Regions from separate parts of the Homo sapiens genome. Here region 2 is linked to region 1. Evidence: promoter capture Hi-C in human tissues and cell types (Jung and others, 2019). All regions are on one chromosome and are shown on one strand. Each heading gives the region's core, a stretch centred on a gene start or on the middle of the fragment in contact. The rest is flanking DNA. Distances are from core to core; before and after follow the strand shown.

What was found. Contacts are between HindIII fragments. The study calls those that stand out against the background at their distance.
Region 2: a contact is called between a fragment that was not itself captured here and the fragment with the promoter of CLEC19A in region 1, in 1 of the 25 tissues and cell types used here (heart left ventricle).

What each region holds. Positions count from the first base shown.
Region 1 is chr16:19,280,839-19,288,628 of GRCh38, forward strand. CLEC19A (C-type lectin domain containing 19A) reads left to right here and starts at 4,893. Exons shown (of 5, transcript NM_001256720.2): 1 at 4,893-5,101. The coding sequence starts at 5,014. The HindIII fragment of the contact is 9,003 bases long and covers 3,595-7,790 here.
Region 2 is chr16:19,489,258-19,497,047 of GRCh38, forward strand. It overlaps TMC5 (transmembrane channel like 5), which reads left to right. Exons shown (of 22, transcript NM_001261841.2): 18 at 1,138-1,311; 19 at 2,893-2,971; 20 at 5,005-5,109. Among named protein-coding and RNA genes, the nearest start is that of TMC5-AS1, 5.3 kb to the left of the region's middle. RefSeq lists a silencer at 7,253-7,464. The HindIII fragment of the contact is 8,195 bases long and covers 589-7,790 here.

The DNA of each region.
Region 1 (7,790 bases), core at 3,643-6,142:
ATACAAAAAAAAAATCAGCCGGGCATGGTGGCGGGCGCCTGTAGTCCCAGCTACTCGGGAGGCTGCGGCAGGAGAATCGCTTGAACCTGGGAGGCAGAGGTTGCAGTGAGCCGAGATTGCGCCATTGCACTCCAGCCTGGGCAACAGAACAAGACTCCATCTAAAAAAAAAAAAATTGTTTCTCTAGAACTACCTCCTGGTACCAAAATCTGTATTAGGATTCTCCAGAGAGACAGCCAGTAGGATAGATGGAAGGGGATTTATTGAGGAGGAGTTGGCAAACACAGTCACAGAGGTGAAGTCTCAGGATAGGCCAACTACAAGCTAGAAAACCAGAGAAGCTGGAGTGTGGCTCAAAGCTGGGAGTGTGGCTCAGTCCAAGTCCAAAGCCTCATAACCAGGGAAGCCAGCAGAGCAGCCTCCAGTCAGACTCAAGAGACCCCAAAGGCCACTGGTGCAATCCCTAGAATCCTAAAGCTGAACCTGGAATCCAATGTCCAAAGGCAAAAAGAGAAAAAGTGTCCTACTCTGGAAGGAAGAGGGAGAGCAGAGAGATGACCAGTCCCCCTCCTTCTGACCATTTTTTCCAGTTGGCTCCCTGCCAGTTGTTTGGTGTCCTCCCACACTGAGAGCAAGTCTCCCTCTCTCAGTCCACAAACTCCCATGTCAATCTCCTCTGGCAATGCCCTCCCAGACACATTCAGAAACAACGCTACCTCCGGGATTGAGGCATCCCTCAATCCAGTCAAGTTGACACCTAAAATCAACCATCACATCAACTTGATACTTTCCTATACAGTATTTTTGAAGGTTCTAAAGTGATTGAAAGGTAGCTAACATATATGGAATGCTTATCATGCGACAAACATTTTTCTAACCACTTGTATGAGGGAAGTATTGATTTCTTCCCATTTTGCAGTTGAGAAAACTGAGGATTAGAGGGGTTAAGTAATCAGCATATAATCACACAGCAACAGGTCTGGAGTCTGAACAACAATGCATCTGAATTGAAAGCCATGAAATGAACTGGCATCTATTGCCTCTTTTATAATTGTGGTGAAGGGGTAAGGGACTTTGTTTAATTGATAAACAACATTTTTTAAAAGCTAATAAATTAAGGGAGATAGATGATTGACAGATAAATAGATGATAGAGATTAGATAGACAGACAGACAGAGGGAGAGAGATAAAAGAGAGAGAGAGGGAGAATCTTAATGGAACTTCAAGATGCCATGAACACAGTGTATGTATTGGGAGAGAGAAAAGATAGGCCACCACTCAATAAATACAACTTTAAGAAGCCAGAAAATACATACGGTGTAACAAAGAGACGCCTACAACCTCCAAATGACAGCAAAGATCATATTTGTTAAGTGAAGAAATTGTTTACTTTCTGGCCAGAAAGCTTGAGGTCTAGAACAGGGATTGGCAGGTGACAGCCCGTGGGCCAAATCTGGCCCCTTGCCTATTTTTGTAAATAAAGTTTTATTGGCACACTGCCTGGTCCAGTCCTGTATTTCTGGCAGAGTTGAGTAGTTGTGACAGAGGCTGTGTAGCCCACAAGTCCTAAAATATTTACTGTCTACCTCTTTTTTTTTTTTTTTGACAGAGTCTCACTCTGTCACCCAGACTAAAGTGCAGACACCATCTTGGCTCACTGCAGCCTCAAGCTCCTGGGCCCAAGCGAACCCCCTGCCTCAGCCTCCCAAGTAGCTGGGACTACAGGTGTGCACCACCACACCTGGCTAAGACTTTATTTTTTAAGTAGAGATGGGGTCTCACCATGTTGCCCAGGATGGCCTCAAACTCCTGGCCTCAAGCAATCCTCCCACCTCAGCATCCCAAAGTGCTAGAATATAAGCATAAGCCACTGTGCCTGGCCTGTCTGGTTCTTTATAGAAAAAGTTCCCTACCCTGTCCAGAGCAGGGTTTCATAAACTTTAATATACACACAACCCACCTGGGACGCAGAATTGATTCAGCAGGTCTTGGGGGGCCTGAGATTCTGCATTTCTAATGTGCTACCAGGAGATCCCCGTGCTGCTGGCCCATTGACCATACTTGTGTTTGAGCAAGTAACAAATATCTTGTGTGTCTCCATTCAGAGAGGGTACATGAACTGATTTATAAAAACCTTCAGGCATCAAAATACAACACAGATAATTTAGGAGGTTTATTTGCCAAATCAAAGGATTCTCCACTTTTTAGAAGGATTTCTAGTGGCCTGCTTTGGACCACTCTTCTCCTTCCCACTTAATGTGTCCACACCCAGAGAGACATTGCTATGGTTTGAATGTCTGTCCCCTCCAAAACTCAAGTTGAAATTTAATTGTCATTGTGATGATATTGGGAGGCGGGACTGGTACTGAGTAATCAATGGGCTTGCTACCCAATGTGCCCAGAGGCCAATATCATGGCACTGGCTTTTAAGAAGAGAAAAGCTTTATTGCTAGTCAGCTGGCAAGGAGACAGGAGGAAAGGCTCAAATCTGTCTCCCCACGCTAGGGTTTGGGTCAGGTTTTATAAGCATAGGGTAATGAGGCATGATCTGATTGGATCTTGCAATGAGATGATGTGGGGAGGCATGACCTGATTGGATCCTGCCATGGGGTAACGTCAGAGCTCAATCCGATTGGATTCTGGATCCTGCCATGTAGTGTCTGCTTCTGAATTCAGTCCCTGCTCCTCAGTCTGAGCACTTAGGTTCCCCCTGTGGTTGCACACTTGGTTCATCTGGGCATGCTCAGGTTACATGACCTTCAATCTGAGGGTCCATGGCAAATGAAAAACAACTCACAACTTTGTTACGTAAAAGTTGAACTAGACTGGTCCGATGAGGTTACAGGACTTTTAAGAGGTGTCTGGGTTATAAGAGCTCTTCCCTCATACATGGATCAAAGATGTTATCACAAGAGTAGCTCAGGTATGGCAGGAGTGGGTTCATCCCCTCTTTAAAAAGCTCTGTCTCTCTCTCTCTGTGACTCATCTCTCTTTTACCCTCTCACTATCCACCATATGATGACTCAGCAAGAAAGCCCTCACCAGATGCCAACACCTTGATCTTGGCCTTCCCTGTCTCTAGAACTGTGAACCAATAAATTCTGTTCATTATAAATTACCAGTCTCAGGTGTTCTAGTATAGCAGCACAAAACAGACTAAGATAGACACTTTTAAATTCCAAGCAGCACCCAGGAACATGACAGCAGGAGCCCCCAAATTTCAGCTTGCAAGATGATAGGGAGTAGGGAGAAAATATCCAAACTTTCTTCCACATTTATATCTTTTATCAACCTTTAATAATGTCCAATGTGGGTGTGTGTGTTTTATAACAGAAATAATATATTAGTACAGTGAGTCGTACCTGCACATCACTTATAAACATGTAATAAATATATCCCATTTATAAATAAGTAAGTGTGCATGCTCTGGGATATGCACCAGTACACTAGTTTTGAGGCAACAGATCTACCCGAGGAGGCATCCTGTAGGTTGAAGCTGAGCCTGAGCTGTGCTCATATTCTGAGTCAGACCTTGGCAGACTTTCAGCTCCAGTGCCAGCAGGCAAGGCAAGCTGTGTGGGCACAAGTTAAGTTATTTCTCACAAGCACAGCAGCAGGTGTTCCAGAAAGACTTGGAAGCCAAACAGACACATTCCAGTCCCTGTGAGTGCCAGCCACATGAGGTGTCAGGGCACCTGGCAGAGCATTTCTGGAGAGGAATAAGGGAGTGCAGGGGCAGGGGATGTGGGTGATGCCAAGGAAAGCCTTGCACTAGATCAATGACAACAATAGCAAATGTTGCTGTCATTTATTGAGCACCTACTACTTGCCAGCATCTATGCCAAGTTTTAGAAACAAATTACTTCATTTAATCCTTGTGAGGTAGGTACTCTACTTATCCCCCATTTTACAGAGGAGGCAACTGAGGTTCAGAGAGGCAAAGTGACTTGTCTAAGGACACAGAAAGTGGGGGAGAAAGACTGTGGTTTTTAGAAATATTGATTCTCCAAAAGAGCGATGAGATCCCAATGAAAACACTAGGGGTTTTTAAACATTGAATTCTGAGCAAGCCACACAGTAGAGCTATGCACTAGTGATGACACTTGCACCTCTTTGTGGAGCACTTATTCTGTGCAACACTCTGTTGAATCTTCTACAGATGCCTCCTTTAACCCCCGGAGGAACCCTGAGAGACCCTGAGAGGTGAAGGGAGAGGAAAGGAGGCTGACTCACACAGGCTTCCTGGTGCTTCCTCAGCGGTGGATGCTGTCAGGATCAGACCCATGGGGTGGAGACCTTGGTGAACCGAAGCTCAAAGAGCCTGGCTGAAAGAGATGCTCTTTCTCAGCTCCATGCAATTGTTGCCCTGTAGAAATGAGGGCTATGTTTCGTTAGGTCTTCCGATTTTCCAATAGAAGGCAGAAATCCGGACTTATACCTAGCATCTCTTGGTTTTATACCTTAACAAATTTTTTAGAATTTAAAACTCTGCAGACCAAACAAATGACATCCATGGCCCAGGAGACCTCTGCGCTCAATGCTTACTTGCAGTAATTTTACCTTCCAGTACATATCTACTCTGAGGGAGGTGAGATGCTTTGTCTCCTGTGACAGGCTGGAATGTGAGTTTCGTTACCATCCCATTTTACAGAGGGGGAAACTGAGTCTCAGAGAAGTGCACACCCAAGGCCACAGCGTGACTCAGAGACAAGACTGAGAGCTAAATTTTGTCTTGGTTCAGAGGCAAGCTTGGGAGCTAAAATGTCTCTTGGTTCTTTGAGGGGGGCTGGCCTAGGCTGCTTTGCTTTCAGCTGTCATTCTGAGCTGTCTCCAACAGTGTGAAGAGGAGGGAGGAGAAAAGGAAGAAAAGAGGAGGGGACTGGAGTCCATCCAGTCTGTCCCAGCTCCTGCCAGGCTCCATCTGACCCTAGGAGAGCAATCCTGGACCCAAGCTCCAGCCAAAAAGCCTCTCTCCTCCACTCAGGCTGGGAGGTTGCTTTCTAGGAGCTCAGGATGCAAAGGTGGACACTGTGGGCTGCAGCCTTCCTGACCCTCCACTCTGCACAGGCCTTTCCACAAACAGACATCAGTATCAGTCCAGGTAAGTGCAGGGACCAGGGCTGGGAGCAGGTGGAGAGGAGTACACTCTCAGGAACTTATTCTATCGGTGAGGCCTGGCAGCTTCTGTTGGGGGGTTGGGGTGGCCTGACCCGAGTCTCCTGACAGCTTTCCCCCTACCAGCTTTGTCATGGGCACTCTTCTAGGCCCAGACACAAAAAGTCCTGGGTTTGAATCCCAGTTTTGCAGTTTACAAGCTGTGTGACATAGAGGAAGTTTCTTGATCTCTCTGAGCCTCAGCTTCTTCTAGAAAGTTGGGTCGCAATGGCATTCTCTTTGGGCTACTGTGCAAGGCAGATAAGATAACATGAGGAAAGTGCTTTGCACAGTGTCTGGCACTACAGGAAGATCTGAACATGGTAGTTTTGTGAGGGATTTGGCATCTGGGCCCCAACCCCACCTTGGCTGTGACAGCCTTCCCAGGGAGCTTTCAGAGCTGCTGCAGTGCCACCAGAGGTTAGGTGCGCAGGGAGGGAGACTTGTCCCTCTAATGGCCTCCCTGGAGGCCTGGCCCAGCAACCCCCAGCCTTGTGGGGCATCCCCAGGGATGAGAACCTGTCAGCCTTGGGCATGTGGCCTCCCAGTGTCCCATATGGAGGGTGAGGGTCTTCAAATGAGCTCAACTTCTTCCACTTTGCAATAGGAAGGCTGGGTTACTGATTCTGGGGGACCCTCATCTGGATGAGAAGAGTTCTGAATCCTATAATTTGGTGGCCAAGAGTCTTGACTGTCACCTCTACCAGGTTCTTTCCAGGCTTGTTTATGTTCATATATGGATTTATTTATCATAGCAGTGGCAGAGATATCATTTTTAAATCCCCGTTCAAGTAAAACTAATAATGAAATACCTAGATGGAGATTCTCATAAGGCCAAATTATTGGGTTGTGATAGTGTTAGAGTGACTTTAAACAGAGGGTTGATAGGGTTGTCAGATAAAATACCAATAAATAAATATTAATAAATTATTTCTTAGTGTAAGCATGCCCCAAATATTACATGGGACGTATTTATACTAAAAATTATCTGTTTGTTTACCTGAAATCAAATTTAACTAGGTATCCTTCTTTTTTTTTTTTTTTTTTGTTAATCTAGCATCCCTAGTGGTAACAATAAGGGATAGTCTTAGCTCATTTGGGCAAGGGGTTTCAGTTCTGTCCTAAACTCTCTGAGTGTATTCATCAGCTCAGGCTGCGAATATCACAGACTGGGGAGCTTAAGCAACAAACATTTATTTCTCACAGTTCTGGAGGCTGGGAAGTTCAAGATCAGGATGCCAGCAGATTTTATTCCTGGTGAGGACTCTCTTCCTGGCTTGCAGATGGCCGCCTTCTCACTGTACCCTCACATGGCAGAGTAAGAGAAAGCTCTGGTCTCTTCCTCTTATAAGCACACTAATCCCATCATAAGGATGGGATCCCATCTAAATCTAATCACTTCCCAAAGGTCCCCCCTCCCAATACCATCACATTGGGAGTCAGAGCTTTAACATATGAATTGGGGGCAGGGAAGAGGAGAGACACAGACATTCCATTCATAGCAGTGACTTGCCTCCTTACTCTCGGACCTCAGTTTCCTCACCAATACAATAAGCAAGTAGGAAAGAAGTTGAACAAAATATCCTTGCAGACTGCGCCTCGTATATCCCAAGATCTTGCCTTTCTGCCCAGCAAAAGTGGGAAGGGGCCAAGACTGAGTTTGAAAGCGGGAGTAACTAGGGGTATTTTCTGTCCTTCACTAGCTTGTGCCCATGGGACCTCTCTGAGACTCAAGTTTCCTCACCTCTCTGAGCCCCAAGTGGGGATAACAAGGGTCCTTATCAAGGGTTTTGGAGATCTTCAATGAGCTCGTGCAGGTGAAGTGCTTAGCACATAGGAAGCATTTAAAAAATGAGTTATTGCCATTACTATGTTTGCCACTGTGGTTGTTGATGTTATACTAGAATTGGCCAGGAGACAGTTTTCTATTCTGACAAAAGTCTTCAACATTGAAAGGAACTTCTGAACATCAGTCCCCAAGCCTCATCCCTACTCTATAGATAAGGGGACTGAGATTGTGTCAATCTCAGCTACCTGGGAGAGCTCGCAGTTTGGAAATGGAAGGATGGGTCTTAAAGATCCACTCAGCCCAACCTTTCCATATTAAGGCTATGGAAACTGAGGCTACAGAGGCCAATTGAGCCAACCATGGTCATCACTGTCCAAGTGGCAGTTCAACTGCTTCCCAGGCTCCCAGCCCTACAGGAAGCCCAGTTTCAGCCTATGCAGATAGATTCTCTAGAGGAAAGTGATTTCAACACAGAGGGAATGTGTGTGAGTTTATGGGTGCATATGGGCAGGAGCGTGTGTGTTGGTATGTTGTAGGGAGGATTTAGGGGTCTCTGTGGGCCCCGGCCGACCATGAGAATACATGTACCTCCAAGGTCCTCCTTATTGAGAATAGGCTTGGTTTTTCATCTTCTTCTGTGGACCCCCAGCCTTTAGGTACAATGCATAACAGGGCACAGGTCATGGGTCATTCATCCCACTACTCCAGACCTTTCATCACCCACCCCTTGCATATGCAAATATACGCAAATAGCACAACTCAGCCACCCCCTATGTTTTGGAGGAAAAAAAACTTTTTAGACATCTCTTAGAGACTTGGGAGGATTTAGACAGACTAAATCCTTTTC
Region 2 (7,790 bases), core at 3,436-5,935, 210 kb after region 1:
TCACGTGATTGTCCCACCTCAGCCTCCCGAGTAGCTGGGACTATAGGCACACATCACCATGCCTGGCTAATTATTTTTTTATTTTTTATTTTTTTGAGACAGAGTCTCACTCTGTCATCCAGGCTGGAGTGCAGTGGCGCAATCTCGGCTCACTGCAAGCTCCGCCTCCCAGGTTCACGCCCTTCTCCTGCCTCAGCCTCCTGAGTAGCTGGGACTACAGGCGCCCGCCACCACGCCCAGCTAATTTTTTGTATTTTTAGTAGAGACAGGGTTTCACCGTGTTAGCCAGGATGGTCTTGATCTCCTGACCTTGTGATCCACCCGCCTCGGCCTCCCAAAGTGCTGGGATTACAGGCATGAGCCACCGCGCCTGGCATGCCTGGCTAATTTTTTTTTTTTTTTTTTTTTTAGAAATGGGTGTCTTGCTATGTTGCCTAGGCTGGTCTCGAACTCTTGGCCTCAAGAGATCCTTCTGCCTTGGCCTCTCAAAGTGCTGGAATTGCAGGCGAGCCACCATACTTGTCTTTAATTTCATTTCTTTTTTTTTTTCAGACAGGGTCTTGCTCTGTTGCCCAGGCTGAAGTACAGTGGTGTGATCACAGCTCACTATAGCCTCAACCTCCTGGGCTCAAGTGATCCTCCCACCTCAGCCTCCTATGTAGCCAGGACCACAGGCATGTGCTGCCATGCCCAGCTAATTATTTTTTTGTAGAGATGGAGTCTCACTATGTTGCCCAGGCTGGTCTTGAACTTCTGGGCTCAAGCAATCCTCCCACCTTGACCTCCCAAACTGTTGGGATTAGAGGCATGAGCCATAGTGCCTGGCCTTAATTCAACTTCTTAAGAAAAAAAGTCTGACTGCCCCCATTCATATCATTGAGCCAAGTTACTGCAGAAGTCACTGCTTGGCCTTTGGATTGGCTGCTGTTGGGTCAGCTCTGATCTGAGAGCAGGTCCTTAGAGTACAGGTCACCCCAGCAAGGCTGAGAGCAAGAGGGTTTCTTTGGGAAGTGGGTGTGATTGGATCAGGCAAGACTTGATGTTTTCAGGCCCAGAGCCCAGAAGGGACACCCTGATTCTAGAATAACCATCCCTGAGTCTTGTGCTAGAGATGTTCTTCCATCTTTGTTTTACCAGATTGAAGCCTTCAGCTGACTGTGGCCCTTTTCGAGGTCTGCCTCTCTTCATTCACTCCATCTACAGCTGGATCGACACCCTAAGTACACGGCCTGGCTACCTGTGGGTTGTTTGGATCTATCGGAACCTCATTGGAAGTGTGCACTTCTTTTTCATCCTCACCCTCATTGTGCTGTGAGTGTGGTACCCGGGGAATCTAGCAGGGAAAGCCAGGAGCTCTCGAGGGAAACAGCAGTAGGGATGTTTGGTTGGAAAGCAAATGGCTATAGCATAGCTCAGTGTTCTGGGTGACTCTACCCTTGCATAGGTAGTTTTCTTTCCTTCCTTCCTTCCTTCCTTCCTTCCTTCCTTCCTTCCTTCCTTCCTTCCCTTCCTTTTTTTCTTTTCTCTTCTCTTCCCTTCCCCTCCCTCCCTCTCTTTCTCCCTTTCTCCCTTCCCTTTCCTTTCAGTTCCGTTCCTTTCCTCTTCATTTTTTCTTCCTTCCTTCCTTCCTTCTTTCTCCCTTCCCCTCCCTTCCCTTCCCCTTCTTTCTCCCTTCCCCTCCCTTCCCTTCCTTTCCCCTTCCCCTCCCTTCCCTTCCCTTCCCCTTCTCCTTCCTTCCTTCCTTCCTTACTTCTCTCTTTCTTTTTTGGTTGAGACAGGGTCATGATCTCTCACTCAGGCTAGACTGTAGCGGCATGGTCATGGCTTGCTGCAACCTCAACCTTTCAGGCTCAAGCCATCCTCCCACCTCAGCCCCCAAGTAGCTGGGCTTGCAGGTGTGCACCACTACACTTGGCTAATTTTTAAATTTTTTGGAGAAATGGGGTCTCCCTGTGTTGCCCAGGCTGGTCTCAAACTCCTGGCCTCAAATTATCCTCCTGCCTCAGCTTCTCAAAGTGTTGGGATTACAGGTGTTAGCCACCTTGCCCAAGCTTGCATTGATAGTTTTTTTGAAGTTACTTAGCCTGGTGCAGTGGCTTGTGCCTGTAGTCTGAGCTTCTTGGGAAGCTGAGATGGGAGGATTGCTTGAGCCTAGGAGTTTGAGGCTGCAGTGTTCTCTGATCGTGCCACTGCACTCCAGCCTGGGCAACAGAGCAAGACCCCATCACTGGGGGAAGGGGGGAAAGGTTATATATACTATCTTCTTGTCTTAGGGATTTTTTTTTTTTTTTTTTTTGAGACAGAGTCTCGCACTGTCACCCAGGCTGGAGTGCACTGGCGCGATCTCAGCACACTGCAAGTTCCGCCTCCTGGGTTCATGCCATTCTCCTGCCTCAGCCTCCCGAGTAGTTGGGACTACAGGCACCCACCACCACGCCCAGCTAATTTTTTGCATTTTTAATAGAGACAGGGTTTCACTGTGTTAGCCAGGATGATCTCGATCTCCTGACCTCAAGTGATCCGCCCGCCTTGGCCTCCCAAAGTGCTGGGATTCCAGGCATGAGCCACCGTGCTGGGTCATCTTAGGGACTTTTTTTTTAACTTATTCTATTAAGAAAGCAATACCTGCTTTTCTCCTCTTAAGGAGATGACATGCCCAGAGATGCTCAATTAATTGGTCTGAAGAGGAGCTGTGGCATGGGCTTATTTCCCCCTTCAGGAACCATTGTTCCAATGTATTTAACCTATAACTCTCCCTGACATGACTTTTCAGAAACATGTTTGGGCCAAATCCATCTGCAAGCACAGATTCCAGTTCCTTTGCATCCAGTGGAAATTCAGAGCCTGCAAAACATTTGCAAGAGTGTCATTCTTTCTTTTCTCCTCTTCCAGAATCATCACCTATCTTTACTGGCAGATCACAGAGGGAAGGAAGATTATGATAAGGCTGCTCCATGAGCAGATCATTAATGTAAGTCCCCTTGGATCCCTCTGATGTCCGCCCTCACCCTTTTTAAACGCTGTATAAACATCCTCCAAAATAAAGAGAATACTACAATGAACTCTCATATCCCTGCTCTCAGCCCTAACAACCATCAATGTTTTTATATTCTTATTTCATCTACACTTTCTCTTCCCAGCAAATCCCTTATTTTTATTCTTAGTATTTATTTATTTTAATTATGATGATTATTATTATTATTTTGAGATAGAGTTTTGCTCTTGTTGCCCAGGCTGGAGTGCAGTGGTGCAATCTCGGCTCACGGCAACTTCTGCCTCCAGGGTTCAAGCGATTCTCCTGCCCCAACCTCCCAAGTAGCTGGAATTACAGGTGCCTGCCACCATGCCCAGCTAATTTTTGAATTTTTAGTGGAGACAGGGTTTCACCATGTTGGCCAGGCTGGTCTCGAACTGCTGACCTCAGGTGATCCACCTGCCTCCCAAAGTGCTGGGATTACAGCCATCACACCCAGCCTTATTTTATTTTTTTAGAGGTGGGGGTCTTGCTATGTTGCCCTGGCTGGATTCAAATTCCTGGGCTCCTGCCTCAGCCTCCGGAGTAGCTGAGATTACAGGCAGGTGCCACTCCATCTGGCTCCCTGGATTATTTTAAAGCAAATCTTAGGCTTTATATTATTTTTTATTTATTAAAACTTAGATATATATATATATATATCTCTCTATAAGATAAATACTTTTATTTCATTTATTTATTTATTTTGAGACAGAGTTTCACTCTTGTTGCCCAGGTTGGAGTGCAGTGGAGCAATCTTGGCTCACTGCAACCTCCGCCTCCCGGGTTCAAGCAATTCTTCTGCCTCAGCTTCCCGCATAGCTGGAATTACAGGCGCCTGCCACCACACCCGGCTAATTTTGTATTTTTAGTAGAGATGGGGTTTCTCCATGTTGGTCAGGCTGGTCTCAAACTTCCGACCTCAGGTGATCCGCCCGCCTCGGCCTCCCAAAGTGCTAAGATTACAGGTGTGAGCCATCGCCCCCAGCTGAGATAAAGACTTTTAAAAATAACTACAATATCATCATCACACTTAAAAAACTTAACAATAATTTATTATTATCATCTTATATCCAATGTTTACATTTCCCCAACTGTCCCCTTAAGTGTCTTTTTATACTAGAACTGCACAAATCAGGATCTGAAAAGGGGGTACATGTTGCATTTGGTTAATGTCTCTCTCTCTCTCTCTCTCTTTTTTTTTTTTTGAGACAGAATCTCACTGTGTCTCCCAGGCTGGAACGCAGTGGCATGATTTTGGCTCACTGCAACTTCTGCCTCCTGGGTTCAAGTGATTCTCCTGCCTCAGCCTCCTGAGTAGCTGGGATTACAGGTGTGTGCCACCACGCCCAGCTAATTTTTGTATTTTTAGTAGAGACGGGGTTTCACCATGTTGACTAGGCTGGTCTCAAACTCCTGACCTCAAGTGATCCACCTGCCTTGGCCTCCCAAAGTGCTGGGATTACAGGCGTGAGCCACTGCGCCCAGCCAATATGCCTAACTTTCTTTTACTCTATAACCATTTACCACTTCCCCTCCCCACTTCCTCTTTTCTTTTTATTGTTAAAGAATGCAGGTCATCTGTTTCATATTTTCCATATCCTACATATATCTTTTTTTTTTGTTTTGACATGGAGTCTTGCTCTGGGGCACGTGCCTATGGGGGATACTGGAAACCATTTTTCCTGGGTATTGAGACGTGGCATGTAAGTTGCTTCCAGCAGCCGACTTCTGGAGGCTACTTTCTCAAGCCTGTTAGGGGAATTGCTTTAGAGGAGAATATTACAGTGCAGGAAGGCTCTGGGGGATAATTTGGTTTTACTGTGAAATGTTTCTTTTCTTTCACCAAAAGATGGCAGTAACCTCCATCCAACTTCTAGGATCCTAGCTGCCTGAAAACCGACGTTCTTCCCATCAATTGCTTTCTCAATTCCATACCATCATTCATTCATATTTTTGTTTCTTTCTGGTTTTGTTTTCCTTCTTGGTAGGAGGGCAAAGATAAAATGTTCCTGATAGAAAAATTGATCAAGCTGCAGGATATGGAGAAGAAAGCAAACCCCAGCTCACTTGTTCTGGAAAGGAGAGAGGTGGAGGTGAGTCTGGAGGCTGCCTTGGGGACCCCTGGGACACGAGCTTGCCTCCATGTAAAAAGCGCGTCAGAGAACTACAGACCAAGCTCTTGGGATCATGGAAGGGCCCTTCACTCTCTGTCTTAAGTATTTCTGTGGTTTTTACTTAAAAAGTAATATTCATGGCCAGGTGCAGTGGCTCACGCCTGTAATCCCAGCACTTTGGGAGGCCTACGCGGGTGGATCAAGAGGTCAGGAGTTTGAGACCAGCCTGGCCAATATGGTGAAACCCTGTCTCTACTAAAAATACAAAAGTTAGCTGGGTGTGGTGGCACGCACCTGTAGCCCCAGCTACTTGGGAGGCTGAGGCAGAAGAATTGCTTGAACCCAGGAGGTGGAGGTTGCGGTGAGCCAAAATCATGCCACTGCACTCCAGCCTAGGTGACAGAGTGGCACTCTGTCTCAAAAAAAAGTAATATTCATTTTTTCAGCACTTTTCATGCCTGTACTTTTTCTAGGTGCTGGGGTTACGGTGAACAAAACAAAGCCCCCGCCCTCATGGAACTTGCACGCTTGTTTTTCACAACCCCGATAATACAGAAGTAGATCCCACTGAGATGAAAAGGGCCCTGAAATCTCATCTCACTATGAATACTTCAGTGTCTATTCTTTTTTTTTTTTTTTTTTTTTGAGACGGAGTCTCGCTCTGTCGCCCAGGCTGGAGTGCAGTGGCGGGATCTCGGCGCACTGCAAGCTCCGCCTCCCGGGTTCACGCCATTCTCCTGCCTCAGCCTCCCAAGTAGCTGGGACTACAGGCGCCCGCCACTACGCCCGGCTAATTTTTTGTATTTTTAGTAGAGACGGGGTTTCACCGTTTTAGCCGGGATGGTCTCGATCTCCTGACCTCGTGATCCGCCCGCCTCGGCCTCCCAAAGTGCTGGGATTACAGGCGTGAGCCACCGCGCCCGGCCTACTTCAGTGTCTATTCTTGCAAATCTATTTCCCTAGGCATCTGCAAACATACCTGTATCTACCAACACTTTAATTTACTTGTTTATTACAAAAGTGAGGCTATATTATACAAATAGTATCATAACTTCCCTCCCCCGCAGCCCACCACTAAATACTATATCTTGAACGATGTTTAATTCTGTACATATTTGGATATTTGGGTTGTTTCTATGTTTTTAAATACTTAAAACAGTAGGTAATGAAACATTTTGTTACAATTATTTTTTGTGCGTTTATAATCGCAGCTACTCAGGAGGCTGAGGTGGGAGGGGAGGACTGCTTGAGGCCAGGAGTTTAAGACCAACATAGCGAGACCCCATCCCTTAAAAAATTTTAATAATTAGGCACGGTGGCATGCAACTGTAGCCTCAGCTACTCAGGAAGCTGAGGTGAGAGGACTGCTCAAACCCAGGAGTTTGAGGCTACAGTGAGCTATGATCCCATCACCGCACTCCAGCTTGGGAGACAGAACAAGACCCTCTCTCTAAAAAAAATTACCCTGGGCACAGTGGCTCCCTCCTGTGATCCCCAGCACTTTGGGAGGCCGAGGCGGGCTTATCACTTGAGGTCAGGGGTTCGAGACCAGCCCAGCAAACATGGTGAAACCCATCTCTAGTAAAAATATAAAAAACAAAAACAAACAAACAAGAAAACTTAGCTGGGTGTTGTGGTGCACATCTGTAATCCCAGCTACTTGGGAGGCTGAAGCACAGGAAATCACTTGGACCCAGGAGGTGGAGATTGCAGTGAGCCAAGGTCACACCATTGCACTCCAGCCTGGGCAACAGTGCAAGACTCCGTGTCAAAAAAAAAAAAAAATTAAAAAGTTATTTTTTGTGAATATTTCTGCCACAAAGCACGTACATGACAATGTTAATAGATATTGCTATATCATTCCCTTAAAAAGATTTAATCAATTTCATTCTTACCAAGAGAATATAAAGATACATGAAACCCTGCTCTAATTCCAAAGCCTTGCTTGCTTCCTGAGTGTCCTGAAAATACAGATGAACAGTAAATCCACCTTAACGCAAATACCACTTATGTTGGAAATTGTGATCTTGACAGAAGTGACTGACAAGTAATTTACCATCTGTGCAAATTTATACTGTCAGCACAATTTAGGTAAGGGATCTAGAGGCCTAAAGGTAGATTCTCTGAAGGTGAGGACCACGTCTGTGCACTTGTCACCCCACGTCCTAATTTATTACCTGGCATAATATGAATGCTCAGTGAATATCTGTGGAACGGCCAGGTGCGGTGGCTCACGCCTGTAATCCCAGCACTTTGGGAGGCCGAGGTGGACAGATCACTTGAGGTCAGGAGTTTGAGACCGGCCTGACCAACATGGTGAAACCCTGTCTCTACTAAAAATAAAAAAAAAAAATTAGCTGGGCGTGGTGGCAGGCACCTATAATCCCAGCTACTCCAGAGGCTGAGGCGGGAAAATCGCTGGAACCCGAGAGGCGGAGGTTGCAGTGAGCCGAGATCATGCCATTCCACTCCAGTCTAGGAGATAAAGCAAGACTCTGTCAAAAAAAAAAAAAAAAAAAAAAAAAAGAGTATCTGTGGAATGAATGAATGGAATCACTCTCCCTAAAAAACAAAACATGTTCAATATTTCTATGGCGGAGACTTGGCCTTAATCTCTCATCCCTTAACTTCTATAAAATGGTGAGGGGCTCACAAATTGT